Regions from separate parts of the Homo sapiens genome. Here regions 1, 2 and 4 are each linked to region 3. Evidence: promoter capture Hi-C in 16 types of primary human blood cells and fetal thymus (Javierre and others, 2016). All regions are on one chromosome and are shown on one strand. The core of a region is centred on a gene start or on the middle of the fragment in contact, and the rest is flanking DNA. Distances in the headings are between cores, read along the strand shown.

Region 1 (6,271 bases), core at 2,093-4,592, 1.2 Mb before region 3:
AATAAGTCATGAGGCCAGGTCAGACTCAAGGGATTAGAAAATAGACTTTTGATGGGAAAAATTTCAAAATCACATTACAAGCAGGTCTGGAGGCAGGGAAGTGAATAATTGGGGCCACTTTTGCAAACAGTCTACCCAATTGCCCTCTGCTTCTATGAGCCGGCAGAGCCCATCAAATTGGAATGTAAGTCACACTTTATAGTTTGCACAGAAAATCAACTCCTCTTCTCAAGGGGCATATCTGTCCAGGCACCTGCTGAGTGAATTGGTGGCAGCTCAGTGATTACATCCCCATTGCTTGGTCTTAGGCCTGGAGAGCAGGCTTCTTGGTCCTGATTACCTTGAACATACTCTGTAGTCCTTTGCATTTGAAATGCTTTTGGTAATTGCTTGCTACCCAAGGGAACCAGTTCTGGGAGGAATGTATAACAGTAGCAGAAATGAACAATACAAAAGAGGCAATCAAGCCCTATGACTTCTGGGAACATCCAACACAAAATGTCATCTCAACTCTACTCCCTGATCTCTTTCTGAGGAGATGACCAACAGTCCCACAAAACTGAAGTAATTAAGTAGTTAACTCTCTAGGTGATGGCCTTGGCAGACCTTCATATATAAAGAATTTTGCCTTTCTCCTTCATTGTCACTGTGCTGATGGGAGCTGCCTTTAGGATTTCTTTGTAGTTGAACAAAGCTGGTGATGGCCCCAGTGTACTTAGTGAACCCCTTTTATGGGATGGTGCTTGAATGCCAGATATGTTGCTCCCTCTTCACAGGGCATGCGGCCACCATTAACATTCCTCTTACACCTTTTGTGGGAATTACAAACTAATTACAGAATGTGTAATTAAGTGCTTCATCTTTCAAATGCTGAAAAAATAAACTGAGCATTCCTCCTTTTGAGCTTGATTTTAGTATTGGTGATTAGCAACATGATTCACTCTGAAATGGGAGGGGTGTGCTTTCAAGTATACCTTTTGCTTTTTCAAGTATAATAAAAATATTGGAAGCTCAGGACAGGTTTGTTTTCCCTTCCCTAGAAGTAGAGTTGAAAGGAAACCCCTTTCTTCTTATCCTTTGTGAATGATCATTTTATTCTTATTGGACTAGTGACCAAGGTCGTCATGGTCCATGAAGCATAAGACAACTACTAACACTCATGTAGCATTTTACACTTAGTGAAGCTTGTTTATACCCATGTCTCATTTCATACTCACAATAAGCCTGTAAAGAAGGTATTTTTATTCCCACTTTACACTTGAGAATTCTGAAGCTCAAGGACTTTGTATGATTCAGTCCTGCTGCTAGAAAAAGGATGAATGGGGTCTTTAGCCAAGTCAATATGATTTTGGAATTCCATGTGCTTCCTCCTCCAATGTAGAAGAGGGAGGAGTCAGCCAGGTAAATCCTGTTTGGGGCATGCCTTGAGGTACTCCATTTCATCCCTAGAATTCTTCTGTGTTTGATACAACCAAGTGCTTCTCTTTGTGATATGTGGTCATTGTCATTGTTCCACGGACAAAAGTAGAGTTATGGCAGCACGAAATAGACAGGCAAACTTACCCATTAAAGGATGTTGATGTAACATTGTCTGAATGCTGGGATTTGATCATGAAGTCAGACCTTATTATGATTTCCCCTTAAAATGACATGAAAAGTATAGAGCAAGCCTCTCTGGACATGAGGCTGTATCAAAGTAATCATGCATTTTAACCCTGTGAACAGCTACATTACCCTCCCCACAGTTCTTCCATTTTATTATCTTGTCTCTGTTTTTTTTTTTTTGTCTCTACTAGATTGTACAGTTGGCACATGTTTACATCCCAAAACAGGCAGTATGTGTATATTTAATAAAGGAATCAATGGACATTTCTCCTTTCTTGGTTTTGGAGAATGAGGTCTAGGAGATCTTTGTTGGAATTTTCAGAAACTGCCAATGATCTTTTCTGTAGTAGATGTTCCACATACCACACCCATATCCCACTGGACACCCATCCAACTGATAGCACTTGCATTTCTTTGCCTGAGGGCCTTATCTAGTCACTAGAGTCTGCTTTGCCCTGCACTGGGCAAGATAGAAGTGCTAGAGAGTTGACATCCCCTGAGAGAAGTCCTTGCCAATGAATGATGGGAGCTGGTCGGTATGTACTCCAGCTCCCTCACCCCTCTGGGAGGTTAACTTTGAGGCACATGGCCTCCAAAGTTTTTTCGGTGAGACTGAGCCCCAGTTACCTACCGTGGTAGCTGGGTTGTTAATGTACCCTTAAAATGCTGTCTTCGTTTTCTCTCTCACTCCACTTCTCTCCTATTGGTATTTTCTTTATCTCACGAATAACTACTTGCATTCAGTTCCACTTGCAGCAGGTTCAGGGTTTGCTTCGGAGGGAATGCAAACTAAGAAACCTTTGTACTGGAGCATTAGAGACACTTCCCTTTGCCAAGTCAGTAAGTGTTTGCTGAATGCCAATTCTTTGTGAAGTTCCATGTGTGGAGAGCAGGGTTTCTCAACTGAGTTCTCCAAACTGGGAGCTGATCATAATCCTGAAAGATCCTGAAAATACAATTCTGGAAAAATAACAAACAACACTACTGTTTTTCTTTTTTCTTTATATTAATTTTTTGTAGAGACAAGGTCTTGCTATGTTGCCCAGGCTGGTCTCAAACTCTTGGTCTCAACTGATCCTTCCTCCTCAGCCTCTCAACGTGCTGAGATTACAAGTGTGAGTCACCACACTTGGCCACTAAAGGACATTGTTTAAAAGATATTTATTTGTTTTGAAAAGATTTATTTGAGAAATATATAAAAACGTGACAGAACACTTCATAGGCCACTTTACACAGCAAAATACACAATAACATATTTTTGCAAGCATAAAACAGGTATGGTAAAGAGTCATGCAGGTATAACAATTACAAGCAGACAAACTATATTTATAAAGAAATAGGTCAAAAATGGAAATGTAACAAACTATAGAAATGATCCCTGAAAGTATAGTAGTAGGGTGGGGGGAGGGAGAGGGATAGCATTAGGAGATATACCTAATGTGAATGACGAGTAAATGGGTGCAGCACACCAACATGGCACATGTATACATATGTAACAAACCTGCACGTTGTGCACACGTATCCTAGAACTTAAAGTATAATAAAAATATATATATATAAAATGGAAATGTACAAATGTATATTACTGTGGTTGGTAATTGTGTGACCAGCTTTATAACATCTGTCATCTGAAACACCGTGACAAATAACCTAAGTCTTTTGATATTTGGTCAAAACCTGCCATGGGTCACCACTGCATATGCAGTCTCTCAAATAATCGAGATCTTGAGAGAGTTTATCTTTCACAAATGCAGATGTACAAAATGGACATCTCTTAATTTACTGAGGAAGTTTCAATGTTGTTATATACATGCACAATGCTTACACACAACGTCAACATTTTGATAATACACTTTACATAGAGTCAACTCTGCAAAAAATACATAAAATGAATTGGAACTCTCTAAAAGTCTCTAAGCAATTTATATCTCCAATATTGAAAATGATGCAAATATGAGATATGTAGCATAGCAAATTGTAAAACATAATGCTGACAATTTAAAATAGTGGAAAAAAACTAAAAAAGGAAAAAATAACCCCAGAAAACCCCCCAAGAAATGAAAAAGAAAATTTGACATATGGAAAAGTATATGGAAATAGTTTATGGGCAATTGCATGGAGATAGTCCCTAAGAGCTGACTGATTTTCACCATCATTGACTATATTTTGAAGTCTTCCACAGTGAGGCATGGCTGCATTTTTTCTTTTAGGGCACGACCCACCTTGGAGAATATGCTCACTCTGGTGCTGCTCTTTTTAAAATTCTTCTATGATTTGCTGTACCCCAACATGAGCATTTTCTATTAAAATTTCTCATCTTCTGTGCCATCTTCCATGTTGCTTTGAACATGTGGAAATTCATTTCCCATGCACTCATATACAGACCAAAAATTTGGGAGAAACAATATTGGCGATGGAACAGCAACACTGTTGCATGTCTTCTTATTCTTCTGTGCATATAATTATTTTTGAACCAGTCTGTAACTTCATTAGGCTTCTTCAGGCAAATATGGCTTTAACTCATAAAAGCTCAAGGAATTTCGTCAGCTGGAAGGAATACCAATGCAGACACATGATGCATTTTTAAACTGAAGTTTTCATCTTTGCCGTATCACATGGCCAATTCACTCATTTGAATTTTCTGTCAAATGCATTGGGCTGAATGGAAAAAAACAATTATTATTGGTAACAGCTTGAATTCACTTTCAGAAGCCTTGACTGTATATAATTCTAAATCGGTCATTGTGCTTTGAGATTCAATTAGACATTAGGAATTTTAGACTGTAGGGATTTAGACTTTAGGGATTTTGGTCTTTTGGGATTTCAACATTCAGATTATGGCGTTCAGGATTGCGTCTTTTGGGATCATTATCCACACCCCATGGAGAAGTACCAGGGTGAATCAGGAGGCAGAGTGTGTCAGGGGAAAGCATGGGTGACAGTGTTTATTGTGGTTTTCATGGGAAGGAATGGGTGAGACAGGGTCATGAGGATCATTTTAGGATTAGCTGTTTGAATAATTTTAGCAAGCTCTGGAACACAGGGACTGCTCCTACTTGGCTGATAACTGGCCCTGTGATAACTAGGGTAGGCAAGTAGTATAGTGTATACTAGACTATTCTAGACTAAAATAGTATAGACTGTGGTAGCCTAAAAGGGGGAGAACTGGTTGGTTTGCATATCGAGGGCATGCTCTCAGAAAGTTTGATATCTTTAAGAATTAGCTAACTCTGGGAGGGGCAGTCCCTCCCAGATCCACACGATGTCAAAGCCTCATAAAAATAGAGAAAATAAAAAAACATGATTAATATAATCCGCTTTTTTGGTTCCCAGCCCCACACCTTCAGTCCCTGGTTTACAACTCATCCCTTGCATCCTGGCTAGCTAAGTTACCACTTCTGTTTGGCTTTGGAATCCCATGTGTGAATTACCCCTTTGGAGAATCCTGATGAGATGAATGCCAAGACCGTGGATCTATTCCTATCTCTTGGCCTGTGCCTCAGAGGATTAGACCCTGTACAGCTGAAGATGTTCTCTTTTTAATACCTCCCTGGATTAAGAAATGCTTTGGCCACCGAAGAAACATAGAGGGCTAGACTCGACTCCATCATGCCTCTTATTGCATATAAGTTAATCAATAGCCATTGATTAGCTATAGAACATTGATTTCTATAGAACATGGGCCATCTGGTCCTGCATCAGCTCCCAGCCAGGATCTGTCTGGCAGTACCAGGTCAAGGGATGGGTGCCACAGAGGCTACAGTGAGATGTGGAAGCACATGGCTAGATCCAGCCATTTCTCGGGAAAATTACCCATCTTTAAGAGGCTCTTGACCCCAATAAACAGGACACAGCAGTGGCTATGTCTGGCTTTGTGGTCTGAACCAAAAGCTTATTGGATTAAATTAATTCATAGGAAGGGCTTATAATAGTGCCTGGCATGTAATAAGCCCTCAACAATTATTAACCATTATAATTAATCACTTTTACAGTGCCTGATTCTTAATGAAGACTCAATAAATGATGCCTTACCACTACTACCAACTCATGCTACCCTGCACATACCATAGAATTTAAATGAATTCAAGTGAGAAAGTGATCCTGTAGGCTTTTGGTAATCTGCAAGGCACCAAAACAGTACAAGGGGAAAAATTCCTGGTAATAACTGCATTCATGATTTTCGAAGAAAATGAGAAAAAAATAGTAGATATGTATAAAAGCATTTTGAATATCTGACTCCTGTAAAGGGTTATAAATTGCTTAGCAGGGTTAAAAAATACATTCTCTTTGGGGAAACCTTACATTAGACATGCTGTGAAATTAAGACTTTTAGTGACATAAGAAAAACTTAAAAGTAGCTATAGAACATAGGTTTATTACATGTTGATAGACGTTCTAGAATGTACATTTTGAGACAATTCACAGTAATTATTCCTTATGTTTTCTTATTCATTATCTTAGAATTAAGAGACTATTTTTGAATTTGAAAGCTATGTAAAAAAGAGTGAGGTTCCCATTGTTTTTCATGTACCCTAATTATTCCAGAGAAAGTCAGCCAGGGGCTAAGAATATTTCATAAAAATAACCAGAAATCAGTTTGTTCTTATCTCTGCCCCCACTTGCCTAGTGGGACGTTGGTTTCCTCCAAAGGGTCCTGAAAGTCCCT
Region 2 (6,609 bases), core at 3,783-6,282, 1.2 Mb before region 3:
TATTGTACAGAAAATGTATATATAATACATATATAATATATACATAATATATAATATATACAATGTATATATTATACATATACATAATATATACAATGTATATATTATACATATATGTAATACATACATAATATATAATATATACAAAGTGTATATTATATATGTATTATATATACATTTTCTGTACAATATATAAAATGTATATATGTATTATGTATTATAATATATGTATTATATGTTATACATAATATATACTACATATAATATATACAATGTATATATTATATCTGTATTATATAATATATACAATGTATATATTATATCTGTATTATATAATATGTACAATGTATATATTATATCTGTATTATATAGTATATACAAGGTATATATTATATCTGTATTATATAATATATACAAGGTATATATTATATCTGTATTATATAATATATACAAGGTATATATTATATCTGTATTATATAATATATACAAGGTATATATTATATCTGTATTATATAATATATACAAGGTATATATTATATCTGTATTATATAATATATACAAGGTATATATTATATCTGTATTATATAATATATACCAGGTATATATTATATCTGTATTATATAATATATACCTGGTATATATTATATCTGTATTATATAATATATACCAGGTATATATTATATCTGTATTATATAATATATACAAGGAATATATTATATCTGTATTATATAATATATACCAGGTATATATTATATCTGTATTATATAATATATACCAGCTATATATTATATCTGTATTATATAATATATACCAGGTATATATTATATCTGTATTATATATACATTTTCTGTACAATAGATATTATGTAAATATGCCTGAGGAGGTCACTTTTCCTTCGTGTTGTTTTATTAGTGGCAAATATGTTATATATAAAATAATTATATATAATTAGTTAAAATATATAAATATATGACATATTTTTATATATTTTATGTATATATATATTTATTATAGAAAGTGAGACAGGGTCTCACTTTATTGCCAAGGCTGGAGTTCAGTGGTGTGATCTTGGTTCACTGAAGCCTCCACCTCCCTGGTTCAAGTGATTCTTCCGCCTCAGCCTCCAGAGTAGCTGGGACTACAGGTGCACACCACCATGCCCAGCTGATTTTTGTATTTATAGTAGAGATGGGGTTTCACCATGTTGGCCAGGGTGTTCTCAAACTCCTGACCTCAAGTGATCTGCCCACCTTGGCCTCCCAAAGTGCTGGAATTATAGGCGTGAGCCACTACGCCTGGCCACAAAACTTTTTATTATGAAAAAATTTCAAATGCACGCAAATATGGAAAGAATTGTAATAAATGTTTATTACCCTGCTTGAACATTTGCCAACATTTTGTTTATCTTATCTGATATATTCTCTCTACTACCTTTATTTTGCAGGAGTATTTTAATGAAAATCCCAAATTTTGTGTCACTCTTAGATACTATGTTTCCTTAAATTTTATATTTCCTTTTCTGTTCTAAAGTATATTGTCTTAGTCTCTTTGGGATGTTATAATAAAATACCTTACAAACTTATAAACAATGGAAAATTATTGCTCAGAGTTCTGAAGGCTGGGAAGTTTAAGATCAAGGCGCCAGCAGATTTGGTGATGGCCCTTTCTTCTAGATGGTGTCTTCTATCTGAGTCCTCACAGGTGGAAGGGGCAAACAAGTTCCCCCACGCCTCTTTCATAATGGCATTAATCCTACTGATTAGGGCTCTACCCTAAAGACCCAGTCACCTCCCAAAGGCCCTACCTCTTAATACCACCACTCAGGGGATTAGATTTTAATATATGAAATTGGGGGAACACAAACATTCAACCATAACATCTATCTCTTCTGTTGCCAAGCTTTCACTTTTCACCTCTATTTCCCTTCATAAACTAATAAATATAAAAGTATTCTCTCCCCTCACAAGATAATATCTCTTGCCTTTTTCCTCTCGGAGTGTTCCTGCGGTTTGTGATCTCTCTTAGCTCTGGTAGCCTGTTCAGGCCTTAAGGTATCTGTTCGGTATTATGTGGTCAAGTAGCTGGGACCACAGGATCACAACACCACGTCTGGCTAATTTTTTTTTTTTTTTTTTTTTTTTTTTGTAGAGATGGGGTTTCGCTATGTTGGCCAGGCTGGTCTCAAACTCCTGGCCTCAAGCAATCTTCCAGCCTTGGCCTCCCAAAGTGCTGGGATTACAGGTGTGAGCCACCACGTCTGGCTTGGAGGGCTTATTAAAACACCGATTCTTAGCCTCACCCCCAGAGTTTCTGGTTAGTAGGTCTTGGCAGGGCTGGAGAATTTGTATTTCCACACCTTCCTTGGTGATGTGTTGTTGGTAGTTCAGGGAGTACATGTGAGAGGAACCGTTTAGATAGTAAAAACTGCAAACCTGAAGAAGAATAGAAGAATCCTTATTCTGTGCTCTCTTAGATTTAGTTTCCTCATCTATGATCAATAACTATTCATTTCTTCCTCATTTCCAATAACGATTTGCTGCTTTTAAGAGCAAGAGATCACTTTTCCTTCATGTTGTTTTGCTAGTGGCAAATCAGAAATGGTTTCGCCAGTATTCACTGATCTTGTAATCACTCTCGGAATCCAGCTGCATCTCTAGTGTAGAGTTTTGGGTCAACAAGAATAATGCTGAGCTTAAAGAATTGGACTCAGTCTCTTGAAGTCAGGGGTTGATGAGAAGGTGGCTCTAATCTATTCATTCAACAACTTCCTATTGAGCACCTGCTATGTGCCAGGTGCTGTTCTAGCCACTAAGATAGAGCAGGTAATAACATAGGGCCATTGTCCTTATGGAATTTGTATTTTAGTGGGGTGAATAAAAAAGGGCAGTCTAGGTGGGGCCCAGAAATAGAAAAATAGAAAAAATATAGTGACGAGTCAAAGTTAAATAATAACCTGTATTTTTCTCTCATAATTCTGGAGTCCAAAAACCTCATGTCATTTCCACTAGGCTAAAGGCAAGGTGTTGGCAAGACCACACTCTCTCTGGAGACTCTGGGGGAGAATTCTTTTTGTCTTTTCCAGCTTCTAGAGCTTAATTTCTTAGCTCGTGGCCCCTTCCTCCATCTTTAAAGCCCGCAGCATAGTATTTTCAAATCTCTCTTTCTGCTTTCATCACATTGCCTTCTCTTTCTCCTATTGTGCCAATAAGAGAAGATAGTTCGGGGCTGTGAAGACTGTAGACACAAGGTGGAAGATGATCCAGGAAGGAGGATGGGAATAATATTGGAAAACAGTGATCATAATCTGCTACTGGTGTCACATGAAGTTGTGTGGTCATATAGCAAAAAGGATAAACATTTATGAGAAGTTTTTCACTTGCTAGGAGTTTTACAGCCATTCCTTCTTTAAATTTCACAATAACCCTTTGAAGGATATACTGTTTTACACATTAAAAAAACCTAAGGCTCAAGGTACAACTTGCCCCAGATTGGATGGTCAATAAGTGGTAACATCAGGATTACAAGGTAAGCAGCCTGCCTTTACAGCAGAAACCTAAAGAAAGCTTTGCTACTCTAAATATGTTCTGTGGACTAGCAGCCCTAGGGTCACCCAGGAACTTGTTGAAATTGCAGTCTCAACCTCCACCCTAGACTTGCCGAATCAGAATTTGTATTTTAACAAGAGCCCTATTGATCCAAATACACCTTAAAGTTTGAGAAATATTGCTAACCAAGCACTATATTTGAAATGCAGTGAAACTACATTTTCAGCTGCTGTGAAGCTGGCTGAAATATCTTCTTTTTTGGTCTTTACTCCAACAATATTAGGAGGCCTAGTCTGATAAGTCATTTGGCTAAGCAAATAACAATTAAGAAAACCATGAACCTCCCCAATTTCATGTCTCTGGGTCTAACAAAGGACACCACAGTGTATTCTAAACAGCAGTTACTTGTCTGCTGAGAGCTAAAATATTTGCTGACTCAGTTATTTCTCTCATCTCTGTGTGTGGCAAGTTCTAGTGTGATAAATTATGGAGGAGAGAGTTATTACAACACTCTCTCTTACATCAGATGATAGTGTTAGGCATATTTTGGGCACTGCAATCATTGCACAGCAGGTAGAGAATCTTTCATAATTATTGTGCTTATAAAATATGCTTATTTATAGAAGCTTGTTTTTACCCCAGGTCCTTGTTAGGCTGTTACTCCATTGCTAAACCTCAGAGTGTGTAGTTTTGGCTGAATCAAGAAATAGAATAATAGAACAGAAGATGGCTGGTAGACTAATGTTTATTATGGACCACTTGCATTAGAATTACCTGGTGCTGGTTAAAAATGTAGATCTTGGTCGGGTGCGGTGGCTCACGCCTGTAATCCCAGCACTTTGGGAGGCTGAGGTGGGTGGATCACGAGGTCAGGAGTTCAAGACCAGCCTGGCCAACGTGGTGAACCCTCATCTCTAATAAAAATGCAAAAATTAGCCAAGCATGATGATGCGTTTCTGGAATCCCAGCTACTCAGTGAGGCTGAGGCAGGAGAATCGCTTGAACCTGGGAAACAGAGGTTGCAGTGCACTCAGATTGTGTCATTGCACTCCAGCCTGGGCCACATAGTGTGACTCTTTCCCCCATCCCCACATAAAAAAACATGTAGAACTCTGGGTCCCACCTGGAAAATTAGTTTCTAGGGGTAACACCTAGGAATTTTAACTTATAACATGCTTATCAGACAACTCTCATATAAACTAATCTTTGAGAATTATCATTGTATACCATCAGACCTAACCTTTGTTATTATATGGATTAGGAATCAGAAAAAGAGAGTAGTATAATGACTTTCAGTGCCTCACTTAGAGTTACATTTCCCATTTCCTTTTATTATATACATGGATATGTATATATCAGTCTGGTATAGATAGCTGGCTTTTTAGGAGAAACTTTTAGATCTACTAGTATCTAATAAAGGCAGGGCTAGCTGCTTGTGAGTCGCTGAATGTGGGATAGGCAAGTGGGTGCTAAAGAAACAGTAGTTAAACTTAAAACATCTCCTCTCATGTGATAATAAGCAACCATTTGTCACCTGAAATAACAAATCCACAGGATTTAACTAGAGTTAAGACAGCTGGCTGAGTTCCTTGAGCGATATGACATCGTGCCACAAATTGCCAGGAGGGGACAGCAGAGAGCTGCCAAATGGCCGTAGATGCCAGGTGAACCAAGGTTATCAGTAAGGAGGACGTTAGAATAGCAGCCAGGTGAACCAAGGTTATCAATAAGGAGGAGGTTAGAATAGCAGCCAGGTGAACCAAGGTTATCAATAAGGAGGAGGTTAGAACAGCAGCCAAGAGCTGGCTACCCTAGGTGTGTCTGCTGGGGACACACCTAATTTGGGCAGGCTGAAACTTAGCCTTAAATGAGGAGAGCTGAGCCTGAAGCAGAGGCAGTTACCTACCCCCATGAGAAAAGGCAATGTCTGGGCCAGTGAGTGGAAGAGAGAAGCTGAAGTCAGGAATGCAAGCTGGCAAGTTAGGAGCGGGGGTAAGCGGTGAGTGTGTCGGAATGGGATAGCTAATGGGCTGCCAGGGAGTACCAGCTTCTTCAGAGGTAGTTATCCTGATTCGCAGTATTCTGAGGGGTAATTGTCCTGGTAAGATCAGGAAACAGTCGGGCTTCTGACAAAGAACCACAAATTAAAACCATAACCATATTATTTAAAAACCTGGAACCCAATCCCTTATTTGAAAAACCCTTTGGTAGTGAGATTTTCAAATTATTTTCAGAAAATGCCTTAGTATTAAAAACAAACAAGACAGTATATGATTAAATACTGCAATTATAGTGTAATCAATACTTGCTCAAAAAGTTTCAGTAAAAGGGGAGACCAATGAAGCTTTGAGTGGCCAAGGAGGACTTCTTTAAGGAAGTGGAATGTGATGATCCTTAATGGATGAGTATGACTTAGGCATGGAGGATATTCAGTGAGGCAAGGGAGAAAAGCTCAGTCTGTTTGCAGGCTTGTGAGGAGGTCACTCATCTGTTTCCAGAGTGCCTTGAGTATGCTGTGGGCTGGGGCATAAAGACATTAGTTTGACCTTTGATAAACTTGGTTTTGTTTGGATGGTTTCCAACAAGTTCTGAAGCAACAGAGTCCAGCTTCTTTAAACAACAGCAGTGTATCATTTACTTGAGGAAGTAAGTATTGATGCCACTTGCATCTGACATAGGTAGCTTCCAATTAGATAGTTTGCTAGGGAAGATATAGTGCCTGATTCCTTCCAGCTGGGGCACCATAATCTTGCCTCTGAATAGATAGAATGTAGTCAGTTCCTGTCTGGATATATAAAAGATGATAAAAGGTTTTTCTGAGAATGCTGTAATGAGAACCAAGTACAGTTAACTATGCAGTTATACAATGAAGGACACAAGTGATACATCTTCTACCCACTAATGGGCTGGTGATTATCACTGTAATTGTGGTCTAGAAATTAGTTATGACTCAGTGGGTAGACTTTCTTTGTATATCCCATCTCTCTAAATAATAGATCATGTTTGGCCTTTGCTTATGCATTTGTCTAGAATATGTCCTTTTCAATTTTTTTAAATTAAGAAA
Region 3 (6,746 bases), core at 2,108-4,607:
CTGCAACCTCCACCTCCTGGGTTTAAGCAATTCTTGTGCCTCAACCTCCAAGTAGCTGAGATCACAGGCATGTACCACCCTGCCTGGCTAATTTTTGTATTTTTAGTAGAGACAGGGTTTTGCCATGTTGGCCAGGCTGGTCTTGAACTCCTCGCCTCAAGTGATCTGCCAACCTTGGCCACCCACAGTGCTGGGATTACAGGCATGAGCCACCATACCTGGCCTGCTCCATGTTCCTAATCAGCTAAGACCTGCAAACAAAAAGCAGCCTACTCAAGATTCATAGGAAGCATTTTTACTTACAATTCCTCTCCTCGTTTGGCTTTCTTGTCTGAAACCAGATAGACAGTTCCAAAACTTCCACTGCCAAGTTTTTGTTGAAGCACGTATCTTCTTGCAATCAAGGTCTTTGGATAAGTGGAAATGGCTGTTGATCCACTCACACACTTAGCTGCCTCTTGGAATTTCAGCATTGCTCCAAACAAGAGAGAACTGGTTCATTCATTTATAGAAACTTAACATTCCAGTCTCCTAAGAAATGGTCAAATTCATCCAGTGTTGGTCAGTTCCTTAAAGATGAAAAGTTAAAAGATCAGGTCTAAAGGTTGCTAAACGATGTCTAACAAAAAGTGTTAAGTGCAGTGATATCTGCACCTTGATCAGCAGACTGACACCATATTGGTTAACAACTTGAAAAAAAATGTTAAAAGGTAGAGATACCACAAATTCCAGAAGGCAATCTTTCACAGGAAGAGCCTCCCTTTGTACATTGAAATTTGGCAGAAGTGAATTATAGCCAACTTTCCACAAATTTCTGGGATGTACATCTGTTTTACAATGAGCAATCTCTTCATTTATTTAAGATTTATACTCCCCAACTACTTATAAAAGAATCCAAATACAAGAACATTATCACCTCCTTAAATCTATACATCTGCATCAACCTTTTTGTAATGCCCTCTTCTCACCTTATATTTACTTTGGTTTACAAAGAGTGAGTTAGGATTAAACAAGGAATTAGCAGGTGCTGTTTCCTTTAGATTTATTTTTTTCTGTAGATGTTAAACCACAGTTTTTGTATTTATTAGGACAGATGCAAAGAAGGATAAGGATTGAGAATTTTTTCCCATGCTCAGCAAATTCTAGTTTCTGAAGTTCCTATTGTACACATTGTGTATAATCTCTCTGGATTAAAAACAGGAAGAGTTACAAATTCAATTCAAACCTAAAATCCCATTTAATGTCAGTGGAATATAAATGCTACAGATAAATCTGTAATTCCTCAGGGAGCTATGAGACGTGGCAGTTATGAAAGGCAGGACTGTTTAGGCCGGGCGCAGTGGCTCACGCCTGTAGTACCAGCACTTTGGGAGGCCAAGGCGGGCGGATCACGAGGTCAGGAGATCGAGACCATCCTGGCTAACACGGTGAAACCCCGTCTAATACAAAAAAATTAGCCGGGCATTGTAGCGGGCGCCTGCAGTCCCAGCTACTCGGGAGGCTGAGGCAGGAGAATAGCGTGAACCCAGGAGGCGGAGCTTGCAGTGAGATCTCGCCACTGCACTCCAGCCTGGGCGACAGAGTAAGACTCCATCTCAACAAAAACAAAAACAAAAACAAAAACAAAAAAAAGAAAGGCAGGACTGTTTCATATGAGTAGGTACAAAGTAAAATCACTTTTATTTCATCAGAATGTTAAATGTTTTGTTAGTTATCAAGAAAAGTGTGCTTTTGTTTTAAATCTATATAGAAATAACATTTTAAATTGAAAACTGCCTACACCTTGAAGTTAGGTTTTCATATTCAACAATTCCAAAGCTATGAGACAAAAACCTAGTTTTTAAGGATGGTCAATGGGCTTTACGTGGTGGTGTCCGTCAACCACAAAAACTACTAGGGCAATTAACCACAAAAATCCTCAAAACAGAACATAAGTAAATGCCCATTTACAACATTTTCCTTCTTAAAATGTATGAATCAGTTAAGTTGTACCTAATACCAGTGAGATTAGTTACCAGCTTTTTCTTTTCCCTTCCAAAGACACGTTAGTAAAATCTGCTGGAAAAACAACTACAGAGCAGGCCTCTAAATATACCTTTTGTTTTTACTTCCCCTTCACTGTCATAAAAGTGATGCCGTCTGGCCATACTAAGCTGTTCAAATAAATATATGGACTTACAGACTTTCCAGCTGAAAAGGGTCCTTCAGGTCACTCAGTAATTCTCCTTATTTTAAAGATGAGATTAAGGTTCCTTTTAGAGAAGGACAGAATTAGGGACGGACAGAATGAGAAGTTCACTTCTAGCGGCTCTTATTTTAAAGGACAGTCTAAACCCAGCAGTGCTTAAGTAGTCTGGTCCAGGCTGCAGAAGACTCTGGGACTAGGTTCCCTCCCGCCCACCCTCACAGACTCAGCCCTGCCACCCCCATCCCAGTCCACTTTTAGGTCATCCATTCCATTAGTCTCCTCTGCGCAACCATAAACCTACCCAAGAATGTGTCGCATTGTCTAGATTCTAGAACTATCTGTTCACTTGACAACACGCTCCCCCTCGAGGTTTGAGTGAACTTGGGCACTGCGAACACATCTTCTTTATTTCTGCATCCCCAATCCCTGGCATACCTCCTGGCATATACTAGGTGTTTAACAAACCTTGTTAAGGCAAGTAAGTGTCCAGCAGATCAACTGCCGCCCAAAGGAGAGAAAAAAGGTTAGTTAAGAAAGCTAGATGGGAACTTGGAGAAAGTTACTACCTTGTGCAAACTACCCGTTCTCGGTGAAACAGATCTGGCTGGGGGCAAAAGACAACGGAAGGAGTATTTATCACAAGTTGAAAACCAGTAGTTATCTTCCCAGGTAATAAGAGGAAGGCAATTTGTCACCAGTTTCTGCTACAGCACAAATCTACCTTTAAAGTAAATCTTAACCTTAAGGTAAAACGAACAATTCCTTGCTTCTTCACCTTTTTAAACATTTACATTTTGGCAAAGCAGGTTAACGTTTATTGAGGGGCACTGAGACTGGAGTACATCCGGAGGTAAGATGTCCAGGAAAGCGAGGAGATCGCAGCCATGGCGTCCTAGAGATTCGGAACCCAGCCCGGGCAGCTTGAAACCATTACCTTCCCCCTCGCAGGGGAGCCTGGCTAGCCCCAAGGAGGACAGTTCGCTTTACCTTTCCCTGTCGTGGTCGGAGCGGCGCCCGGGGCTGCCCAAGTCTTGCGGGTAATCGGGCAGGCCTCAAACTAGGGGCAACCACACCCACCGAGCGCCAGACACCGCGGGCCACGGCTGTTTGGAACCGTGGCCAGGGAGACGGCGCGGGGCATACTGGGAAGTCGGGGCGAGGCGGCACCAAGGCGGAAGTGTTCGCCGACCCAAGTAGGCGGAGAAAGCAGAGGAGGACCGGCGGGCCAAGCTTTCCTAGCCTGACAGCAGCCATTTCGGAACGTACGTCCCAGCCCTCTTTAGCTACTTAGCGCCTCTGGGCCCGAGAACACCTGCTCCTTGGCTCAGTCTGGCGCCACCGGCATCACGGAACTGTACTTCCCAGAGACGTCACACCGGGAGACTTCCGATTCCCGCTCTTGAGATTGGACTCTCACGTGCAGGAGCCAGTCCTCGCTGGGCTCTAGCGGGCTTCTGATGGAGGAGCTACTCCTCTGGGAGGACAGAGTAGGTGGGCTCTGCTGCAGGTCCGGGCGGCGGGTTGTGAGGGCCGAGGTGGCACGGTGTATGAAGGCCTGTGTTTGAAGACTTAGGTCAGACCTTTTGCCCGCCTTTCCCCTATGCAGCTCTATGCAACTGTCTGTGCAAGGTCCTGTAATTTGCGTAGGACGCCTTGACACAGTCTCTGCTTATGGACGCTTTACAAAACTATCTTGCAAAGAAATAAGTACTATACAGGATAAGGTTCTGAGATACTGACAGGGCTGGAACTAGGGTGAGATAAGTGTAAAATGTAAATGGATGCCAATAAAATTCAGTAATCAAGGTAAGTTTTAATGCAATCTCTAAAAATCAAAATTATAGCAAAAAAAATCCATGACTGACAAAATGTCACGATTTTAAGTAATAGTAACAGTACCGTGCTGTGCCATATTGAAGCCCGAGGTGTCAAAAGAAAAACCATCAATTCTGATCCTGCGAGTTAAGTTAGCCAGGTGAGGAAGCGTAGCTGGGCCAGATATGCAAAATAAGATGATGAAAAGAGCTCGTGGTTAGGGGTGTAACTGGATAGAGGGGTTCCTAGAGGCATGAAGCAGTTTTCCTTATACCAAAAACTATGCCAATTAAGAAGGGCCCACAAATCCAAAGCCTGAAAGAAGTTCCGTGACTGATTGTCAATACAAAAGAAAAACTTGATCCTTATCATAGGTCCTACACACCTTACTTTACTGAAGCCCAAATGCTTTGTGATTATGAGATGAATATGATATCTTTTTTTTAGCTTAGGACTTTTTACTTTGACCCCACAAAACAAATACTCTGTGCTGTAAGATGTTGACTATTACCACTTAAGAATCAAAGTTCACAGAACTTCTATACTGGTGTGTCAGTAATGGACTTCAACTGATTTTTCTTTAGAATTAGCAGCAGCCTCTGTCACCATCCAAAGATTACAACCCATGAAACCATTGAATTTGTGCCTTGTATCAGAAAGCAAAGGAGAATGAAAAAGCACAGCTAACATTGCTTGAGGATCTAGGTAAGAATTTATGATGTTGATATCTATGTTCTATCTAAAGAGCACTTCATAACATTTGCTATTGATTTAATGGTGCTGGAAGCAATGACTTGGTGCCCCATAACTAGCATCAATTGAAAATGTTTTCTGTTGTTTTAAACAGGCGATTAATTCTTTAGACTGTCATCATGGGTATCCGAGGACTAATGAGTTTTGTGGAAGATCATAGTAATGAGTTCTTCACTGATTTGAAGTTGCGGGACACAAAAATTGTCATTGATGGTTATGCTCTTTTCCACCGTCTTTGCTTCAGTTCAAACTTGGATCTCCGGTATGGAGGGGACTATGATTCTTTTGCAGATGTTGTACAAAAATTCTTTGAATCACTGTTTGCTTGTAATATATGCCCATATGTTGTATTAGATGGAGGATGTGACATTTCAGATAAAAAGCTTACAACTTTAAAGGATAGAGCTAGAGAGAAGATCCAGATGGCCCATTCCCTTTCTGTTGGTGGGAGTGGGTACGTATGTCCCTTACTCATCCGGGAAGTATTCATACAGGTTTTGATCAAGCTGCGGGTGTGTTTTGTCCAGTGCTTTTCAGAAGCAGATCGGGACATTATGACACTTGCTAACCATTGGAATTGCCCTGTGTTATCATCAGATAGTGACTTTTGCATTTTTGACCTGAAAACTGGGTTTTGCCCATTGAATAGCTTTCAGTGGAGAAATATGAACACTATTAAGGGCACACAAAACTATATCCCTGCCAAATGCTTTTCCCTTGATGCATTCTGCCATCACTTCAGCAATATGAATAAAGCTCTACTACCTCTCTTTGCGGTGCTATGTGGAAATGACCATGTTAATCTACCCATCATGGAGACATTCTTAAGTAAAGCGCGTCTTCCTCTTGGAGCTACCAGTTCTAAAGGGAGGAGACACCACCGAATCCTGGGACTTCTGAATTGGTTGTCTCATTTTGCCAACCCTACCGAAGCACTAGATAATGTTCTGAAATACCTCCCAAAAAAGGATCGAGAAAATGTTAAGGAACTTCTCTGCTGTTCCATGGAAGAATACCAACAGTCCCAGGTGAAGCTACAGGACTTCTTCCAGTGTGGTACTTATGTCTGTCCAGATGCCTTGAATCTTGGTTTACCAGAATGGGTATTAGTGGCTTTAGCTAAAGGCCAGCTATCTCCTTTCATCAGTGATGCTTTGGTCCTAAGACGGACCATTCTTCCCACACAGGTGGAAAACATGCAGCAACCAAATGCCCACAGAATATCTCAGCCCATCAGGCAAATCATCTATGGGCTTCTTTTAAATGCCTCACCACATCTGGACAAGACATCCTGGAATGCATTGCCTCCTCAGCCTCTAGCTTTCAGTGAAGTGGAAAGGATTAATAAAAATATCAGAACCTCAATCATTGATGCAGTAGAACTGGCCAAGGATCATTCTGACTTAAGCAGATTGACTGAGGTAAGTATTTGTAATACTAATGAAATTTTTGTAAAGTACTTTACAGGATACAAAGTGCTGTCTTCTATATTAGTTCACTTACTATAACAAACTGATGAGGTTGAGTGCTATCTTGCCCTCATGTCGTAGCTAAGAAATCTAGAACTTGAGTGAACTAGGTAATGTCTTAGCCAGAAAGTGTCAGTGCTAGGACTCAAACCTAGCTCTTTTAGCTCTAAATCTACCATTTCCACTGTACTTCAGTAGTCTGTGTTATCGTCACAGTTATTACTACTATATTGTTATTACTACCAGGTTAATACTAGCTATCAATAGAATGGGTTACGTGGCTGAAAAAAAAAGGAAAAAAATTCACAACTGCAAAAAAAGTGTATAGACACTAATCATAGGCACAACATCTCAGACTACATCGGATTTCAGATAAGGTTAGTACTGATGCTAAGGTCTAATTTTTTAACTTTTATTAATGAATACCTTTTTTAAAATAGGTTTTTGTGTCATTATGGTTATTTGCCTAGTTTGATACAGAAAACATGACTCTTAGTCTAACTTAGTGTTGCTTAAACCTG
Region 4 (6,415 bases), core at 3,153-5,652, 1.1 Mb before region 3:
GTAACAGAATTTCCTAGGGAGTTTAAAAAAATATGATTTTGTGGGCCCCATCTCCACAGAGTTTGACTTAATAGATCTGAGGCGATGCCTAAGAATATGACTTTTAAAATCAAGTCCCTCATATTTCTTAGGTCATAATTTGCAAAATGGTCACCATGCTCAGGTGAAATATTTCTCTCTTGAGCCTAAAGTCAAGTATGATGGCTTTCATTTGTCATGTAAGTGGCCACATGGTGCAATAATTTAATTCTGTGGTGCTCAGCTTGCGTTACATGTTAAAGAGTAGATTCAGGAAGCTGTATGGTGAACAGTGGTGGTTCTTGAGAATGACCCCTAATGGCAAAAATATTCATCTATCTATGTGATAATATTACACTTTTGGTATCCCCTGATGGAAAAACATATGGAATAATAAGATGCTATGAGTTCAGTAACACTTACAGCCATCTAGATTTCATTAGTCCCAACAGCACTTATGAACATTCCAAGGTCTTGGTGTATATATGTTTGAAATATATCATGTAGTTAATCAACACATGGTAGATTAGAAGACCTCATGAAAGAATTTCATATGCTAACCCATTCCATGTGTCCTCCTCTCTACCCTAAGGGGTTCTTGACAGAAATTTGAATTTTTCAGAATAAGGAGAAGCCCAGAAGACTTGAGTTTGAATTATACAAATAATGGATACTGGCTGAGTCATATAGTTACTTAATCCATAAACCTAAATTTCTGTAAAAAGATGATGACACATATATATTAGATATGCTTTTATTTCCAATTCAGAGGGTACATGTGCAGGTTTATTTCATCGGTATATAGTGTAATGCTGAGATTTGGAGTACAATTTATCTTGTCACCCAGGTAGTGAGCATAGTACCCAGTAGGTAGTTTTTCAGGCCTTGCCCCCACTACCTCCCTTCCCCTTCTAGTAGTCCTAAGTGTCTATCGTTCCCATGTGTACCCAATGTTAAGCTCCCACTTATAAGTGAGAACATGCAGTATTTGGTTTTCTGCTCTTGCATTAATTTGCTTAGGATGATAGCTTCCAACTGCATCCCTGTTGCTGTCAAGAACATGATTTTGTTCTTTTTTATAGTTGCATAGTATTCCATGGTGTATATGTACCACATTTTCTTTATCCAATCCACCATTGATGGACACCTATGTTAATTCCATGACTTTGCTATTGTAAATAGTGTGGCAATGAGCATATAAGTGCATGTATCTTTTTGGTATAATAATCTATATTCCTTTGGGTATATAGACCATGGTTCAAATGGTAGCTCTGTTTTAAGCTCTTTGAGAAAGGTGATGTTAATTTTGTATAGTATCTTGCAGGTGCTCTCTTGATTTCTTATGTCTGGATGTCTACCTCTGTAGCAAGATTAGGGAATTTTCTTGAATTATTCCCTCAAATATGTTTTCTAGGTTGTTTGTTTTCTCCTTTCTCAGGAATGCCAATAATTCATAGATTTGCACAATACCATTACATAATTCCATACTTCTTAAAATCACTTTACATAATCCCATACTTCTTGAAGACTGTTCTTTTTTTCAATTTTGAAGCCATTTTTTTTTGTGAAGTGGTTATTAACAAGTCTATATAAGGTTAGGATTTCCAATTAAAAGTTTTAAATTGAAAGCCTTCAAAGTTCAGTTGTATGTCATGTAGTGAGGAGTAGCACTGAATTTGGCATAAGACTTAATGACCTTACTTACAGCTTCCAAGAGATCCTTCTCCAAGAGATCCTTCTCAGTAGCAATTTTTCACCGTGCTCTGATGGCAAACATACCAGCTTCTGTGCAGACACTTCTAATCTCAGCAGCAGTGCCATTTGGACACAGTCGTGCTAACAATTCAAATCTGATATATCTTTCAACACTCATTGAATGAGCGTGAATCTTAAAGATGTGGGTCCGACCCTCTAGATCAGGCAAGCTAAATTCAATTTTTCTGTCTAATCTGCCTGGCCTCATCAGTGCTGGATCCAAATTATCAGGTCAGTTAGTGGCCATCAGCACTTTAATATTGCCTCGAGGATCAAAACCATCAAGCTGATTGATCAGTTCCAACATCGTTCTCTGCACTTCATTGTCACCTCTAGCACCATCATCAAACCAAGCCCCTCCAATAGCATCAATTTCATCAAAGAAGATAAGGCAGGCTTTTTTTGTTCTGGTCATTTCAAAGAGCTCATGAACCATTTGAGCCCTCTCACTGACATATTTCTGTACAGCTCAGATCCAATAACTCGAATGAAGCACGCATCAGTCTGATTAGCAACTGCCCACACACAGAGTGTCTTCCTGTACTGGGTGGATTAAAGAGCAGCATGCCCTTGGGAGGCTCAATGCCAAGATTCACAAACCTCTCTGGATGAAGTAATGGGGTTTCAACTACTTCTCGCAATTTCTCAATCTGCTCCTTACAGTCACCAACATCACTGTATGTGACAGGTTTTTCCTCCACCTGCATCATGGTAACTGTTGGGTGAGTCTTAGGAGGCAATGGAATGTGAATTTGATATTTATTTCTGTCCACACCTACTCTCATCCCTTCTTCAATGTCAGTGGGTGCCACCTGATCACTAAAGTCCATCACAAACTTGGCAAACTGCTTTACATTGACAATGTATTTTGGGTCCTCTGAATCAGCACTGATTATCTTTGTACACCTGGCAACCTGTAAAGGTTGTTTACTCTGGAGTGTCTGCTTATCTGCAGCCAAATCCCAGAGTGCTGGTGGAGCCAGGCCAGTGTCAGATTCTTTAATACCAGTGAGCTCATTAATTTTCTTGAGAAGTTGCTGAACGCCATCTTCGACTTGCTTGATCTGCCTAAAGTAAGTGCTGTGACCATAAGTTTTCAGCAAGGCAATATCCGCCTCATCCAGAACTTGGATGGGCTTGTCATCCTTCTCATCATCTTTGGTCTTCCGCTGATGGGCACCAAGGTAATCTGGCATTTTAGCAGTTCCAAATGCCTCTGCTCCTTACTGATTACATAGCACCTTCCTTTCTTCTGGTGGTGTCTGAAGACTGTTCTTTTTTAAAAATTATTTTTTTCTTTATTTTTGTCTGACCAGATTAGTTCAAAAGAATAGTCTTCAAGCTCTGACAGTCTTTCTTCTGCTTGGGCTAGTCTATTGATAAAGCTTTCAGTTGTATTTTAAAATTCCTTAGGTGATTCCAGAAGCTCTGATTGATTTCTTTTTAAGATGTTTATCTCTTTCTTCATTTCCTGGATTTCTGTAGAAGTTTCTTTGTGTTGATTTTCAACTTTGTCTTGGCTTTTGTTGAGCATCCTTGCTCCATGGTTTGAATTATTTATTATTTCTGAATTTCCATTTTGGTCAGGGAACATTGCTGAACAGCTAATGTGATCCTTTGGTGGTGTCACAATGTTCAGATTTTTCACGGTGCCAGAATCCTTACACTGGTTCCTTCTCATCTGGAGAGTTTGGTGCTACTAATTTTTGTATTTATTTTCATGCTGGTAGAATTTTTTTTTCTTTCCCTATATATATTTCCATTTCTCCCCTTTCCTAGAGGATGGGACTGTAGAGTGTGTTGGGTAACATCTTTTGGCTTTGCTTCTATAACCCTATGCATTTTTGTGGGCAGTTTTATATTGGGCTGTGTGATTCAACTTACAGGCCAGTAGACGGTGCTGACAGGTATGAGCCAGTTGCTGCACAAACAGATGGGTATGTACATGGTCTGTTTGCTGTGAGGTGCTCTCTGTTGTTTTACATGATGGGCTGGACAGTAGAGTGCTTGGTGCCCTGTGCTTCTTGCTCTGTGGGGGTGGAGAAACAAAGCTAGGCAGAGTTGGAGCCTTTGGCTTGCCCACAAATACCCCCATGGTGAGTGCGGGCACCAGCCCTGTCAAGGGTGGCTGGGAGGAGTCCCTGGTGAAATGCACTGAGATCTCTGGGGCGGGGCAAGGAGATGAGGGATCTGCACTGGCTCCCCATCTTTGATAGGTAGGAACATGGTCTATTTTCCTATCATGCCCCTGTTCCAGGGCTGATGACTCCTCATTCAGACACACACTGTAGTCTGTGTCTAGACCAATGTGTCTGAGAGCCTCAGAAAATGCCTCTTTTGTGATTCTCCATTAAAGTGGTTTGGGGCAACTTCATCACTCAGCCTGATACAAATAGCTTTATGGCAGGGCTGTTCTCTGATATGATAGCACTGCTTCTTTGTGTAAAGGCGGGGGCTATGCCTTTGGGCTTGTGTGAGAAGTGGTCAGGTGCCAGCAGAATTTGAATGGGATAGGTAGTTCCTCAGTTTCCAGGCCCCTAGATGGTCCGCTGGACTGCATGTATGAGTCCTGAAGGGTCTGGAGCCAGATCAGGCTAGCCCAGGATTCAGGTGCTGACTGCGATAGAGAGGGGCAGGCTGGCCCCTGGGTCACTGGATGAACTCTCAGGCAGGGGCAGGCAGAATGCTTGGGTGGTAAGAACCTGAGGGAAGACCTGTGGGGGTAGGGATTTCAGGACTCTAGACTGCAGCTGAAATGCTCATGTGGAGGCAGGGTGCTTGCACTGGGTACCAGAAGTGGCAAGCAAAGGCAGGGAGTTGTGGGGTGTGCAGTCTGCCCAGTTCTTCATATCTGGGCAGCGGTGTCCTTGTTGGAGATGTGTGAAAGCATTCAGCCTCTTTGTTTCCACCTCAACCTGAGGGCAACAGGGGCGAGGGCAGAGGGTTTTTCAGTTATATCTCTTGGAGTTCCATCCCACAGGACCCCAGAGCTGCAACTTTCTACAGTATCCAAGCAGGGGCAGCTGTGCTGGGAGCCTCAACTGGTGGTCCCTGCCTGGTGAGGAGCAGCAGAGGTGGGGTCTGCAGTTGGTCTGCTCCTCAGTACTGTGGCTGTAGCAGCTATCCTAGGGGCTTGCAAAAGAGCCTGTCTTGCCTGTCTTCCCTTGTTGGCAGCACATTGACAGCTGGTGTCAGACTGCTCTGGGATCCAGTGCTTGTGGTGCTCCATGTGGGCTTGAGAGATATCTCTGCATGGACTCCAGATGGTTCTTCTTGTTGGTCTGCAGGCCCGGATGGGTCGGGGGAGTTCTCCTGTGCCCAGGATTGCAAAGGGTTTGTGGGGACATTGTGGATCCCCAGTGGCTGTAATCATTCACTTTGTTCTTCTTTGTTCTCTGTGGGTCCCATTGCTTCTTTAGTGAATCGCAATGTGTTCTCTTAGAATATCCACTTGAAGAGCCAGTGTTTACTCACATTTGTTTCTTCTCTGTGGGAGCAGCTAGCAGGCATCTTCATATATATATATATATATATAATATGATCTCGTTCTGTCACCAGGCTCGAGGGCAAAGGCCTGATCATAGCTCACTTCTATCTCCAACTCTTGGGCTCAATCAATCCTCCCATCTCAGCCTGCTGAGTTGCTGGGAGTACAGGCATGTACCACCATGCCTCAGCCTCCCAGATCATTTTGATTATAGGCATGACCCACTGCACCTGGGTCCTAATGAGTGTGATATAAAGATTAAATGATGTAATGTATGCACAATTTTTGACTTGAAGTAGGCTGTCAATGTTAGTTTTCTTTCTTCTTTCAAAATAATTAACAAAATGAATCTTTAAAACAATAGTCCCAGGAGAATCTGAAGCTTTAAGCTCTTTGTTTTGATTCAGCTCCAGTGTTCCAGAGGCTTTCCTTGTGTACATGAGATAGTTTGGGGGACTTTCTGTTTGGTGTTATGCTGGTGCTCTTTTGTCCTATGCTATTTTCATGGCTGTCAATTGACCAAGGGTCTATAAACACAGTACTCTCACAGTAATCTCACGAAAATCAGGTGCAGAATTGGAGTGGGCTTCTACAAGTTATTGGTATCTGACGCTACTGGTCATTAAAATGATTCTTGTCACTTGAGGAATGATACAGAACAACCACCAACCCCATCTCCTTTCACTCAAAGAGGAGCACAAAAGGTATCACCCATAATTAGTGTGTTTTGTTGTTCATGTTCCCAAGTCAACCCTAGAGATGGAGCCAAGGTTATCACATCCACATGGAACATTCTTTTTCACCTCTAGTCAGGAGATAGCAGGAGGAAGTTTGTGTTTCTCTCTTTTTCTGCAACTATGCTACAATTTGACACTGAAAATACTCAGGCTCGAGGTTTAATTTGAATATCTATGGTATAAAATTACCAGTGTTCACACCCCCTAGCATTTTCCTGACAAATTAATTGCCAATACAATTTTCAGCAGTGGGTATGTGTGGAGCGAGGCAGGGTTGAGAGTTCAGCTTATGGGAGGTAATTATAGGTGCCCTTGGCTGGGAAAGAGCACAGATGATGCTAAAGGAGCCAATGTTTTGGGTAAGCAGCACCTGCTCCTTTGCCAGCTCTGTAGACCCATGGATCTGGGAAACATATAT

What was found. The method cuts DNA at HindIII sites, captures the fragments that hold promoters and counts their contacts. A CHiCAGO score of 5 or more calls a contact.
Region 1: a fragment that was not itself captured here is called in contact with the fragment with the promoter of ASTE1 in region 3 in 1 of 17 cell types (naive B cells); the score reaches 5.6 in naive B cells.
Region 2: a contact is called between a fragment that was not itself captured here and the fragment with the promoter of ASTE1 in region 3, in 3 of 17 cell types (total B cells, naive B cells and total CD4 T cells). The highest score is 6.9, in total B cells.
Region 4: a fragment that was not itself captured here is called in contact with the fragment with the promoter of ASTE1 in region 3 in 1 of 17 cell types (activated CD4 T cells); the score reaches 5.3 in activated CD4 T cells.

What each region holds. Positions count from the first base shown.
Region 1 is chr3:132,189,951-132,196,221 of GRCh38, reverse strand. No RefSeq gene overlaps it. Among named protein-coding and RNA genes, the nearest start is that of TRC-GCA6-1, 36 kb to the left of the region's middle. The HindIII fragment of the contact is 4,312 bases long and covers 1,187-5,498 here.
Region 2 is chr3:132,209,502-132,216,110 of GRCh38, reverse strand. No RefSeq gene overlaps it. Among named protein-coding and RNA genes, the nearest start is that of TRC-GCA6-1, 16 kb to the left of the region's middle. The HindIII fragment of the contact is 1,718 bases long and covers 4,174-5,891 here.
Region 3 is chr3:131,023,436-131,030,181 of GRCh38, reverse strand. It overlaps ASTE1 (asteroid structure-specific endonuclease 1), which reads left to right and starts at 3,357. Exons shown (of 6, transcript NM_014065.4): 1 at 3,357-3,675; 2 at 4,588-4,708; 3 at 4,851-6,177. The coding sequence starts at 4,876. NEK11 (NIMA related kinase 11) reads right to left here and starts at 3,305. Exons shown (of 18, transcript NM_024800.5): 1 at 3,176-3,305; 2 at 2,180-2,252; 3 at 304-569. The coding sequence starts at 473. RefSeq lists enhancers at 2,996-3,185, 3,266-3,325, 3,466-3,705. The HindIII fragment of the contact is 10,416 bases long and covers 1-3,420 here.
Region 4 is chr3:132,171,956-132,178,370 of GRCh38, reverse strand. It overlaps the pseudogene PSMC2P1. Among named protein-coding and RNA genes, the nearest start is that of TRC-GCA6-1, 54 kb to the left of the region's middle. The HindIII fragment of the contact is 2,484 bases long and covers 3,161-5,644 here.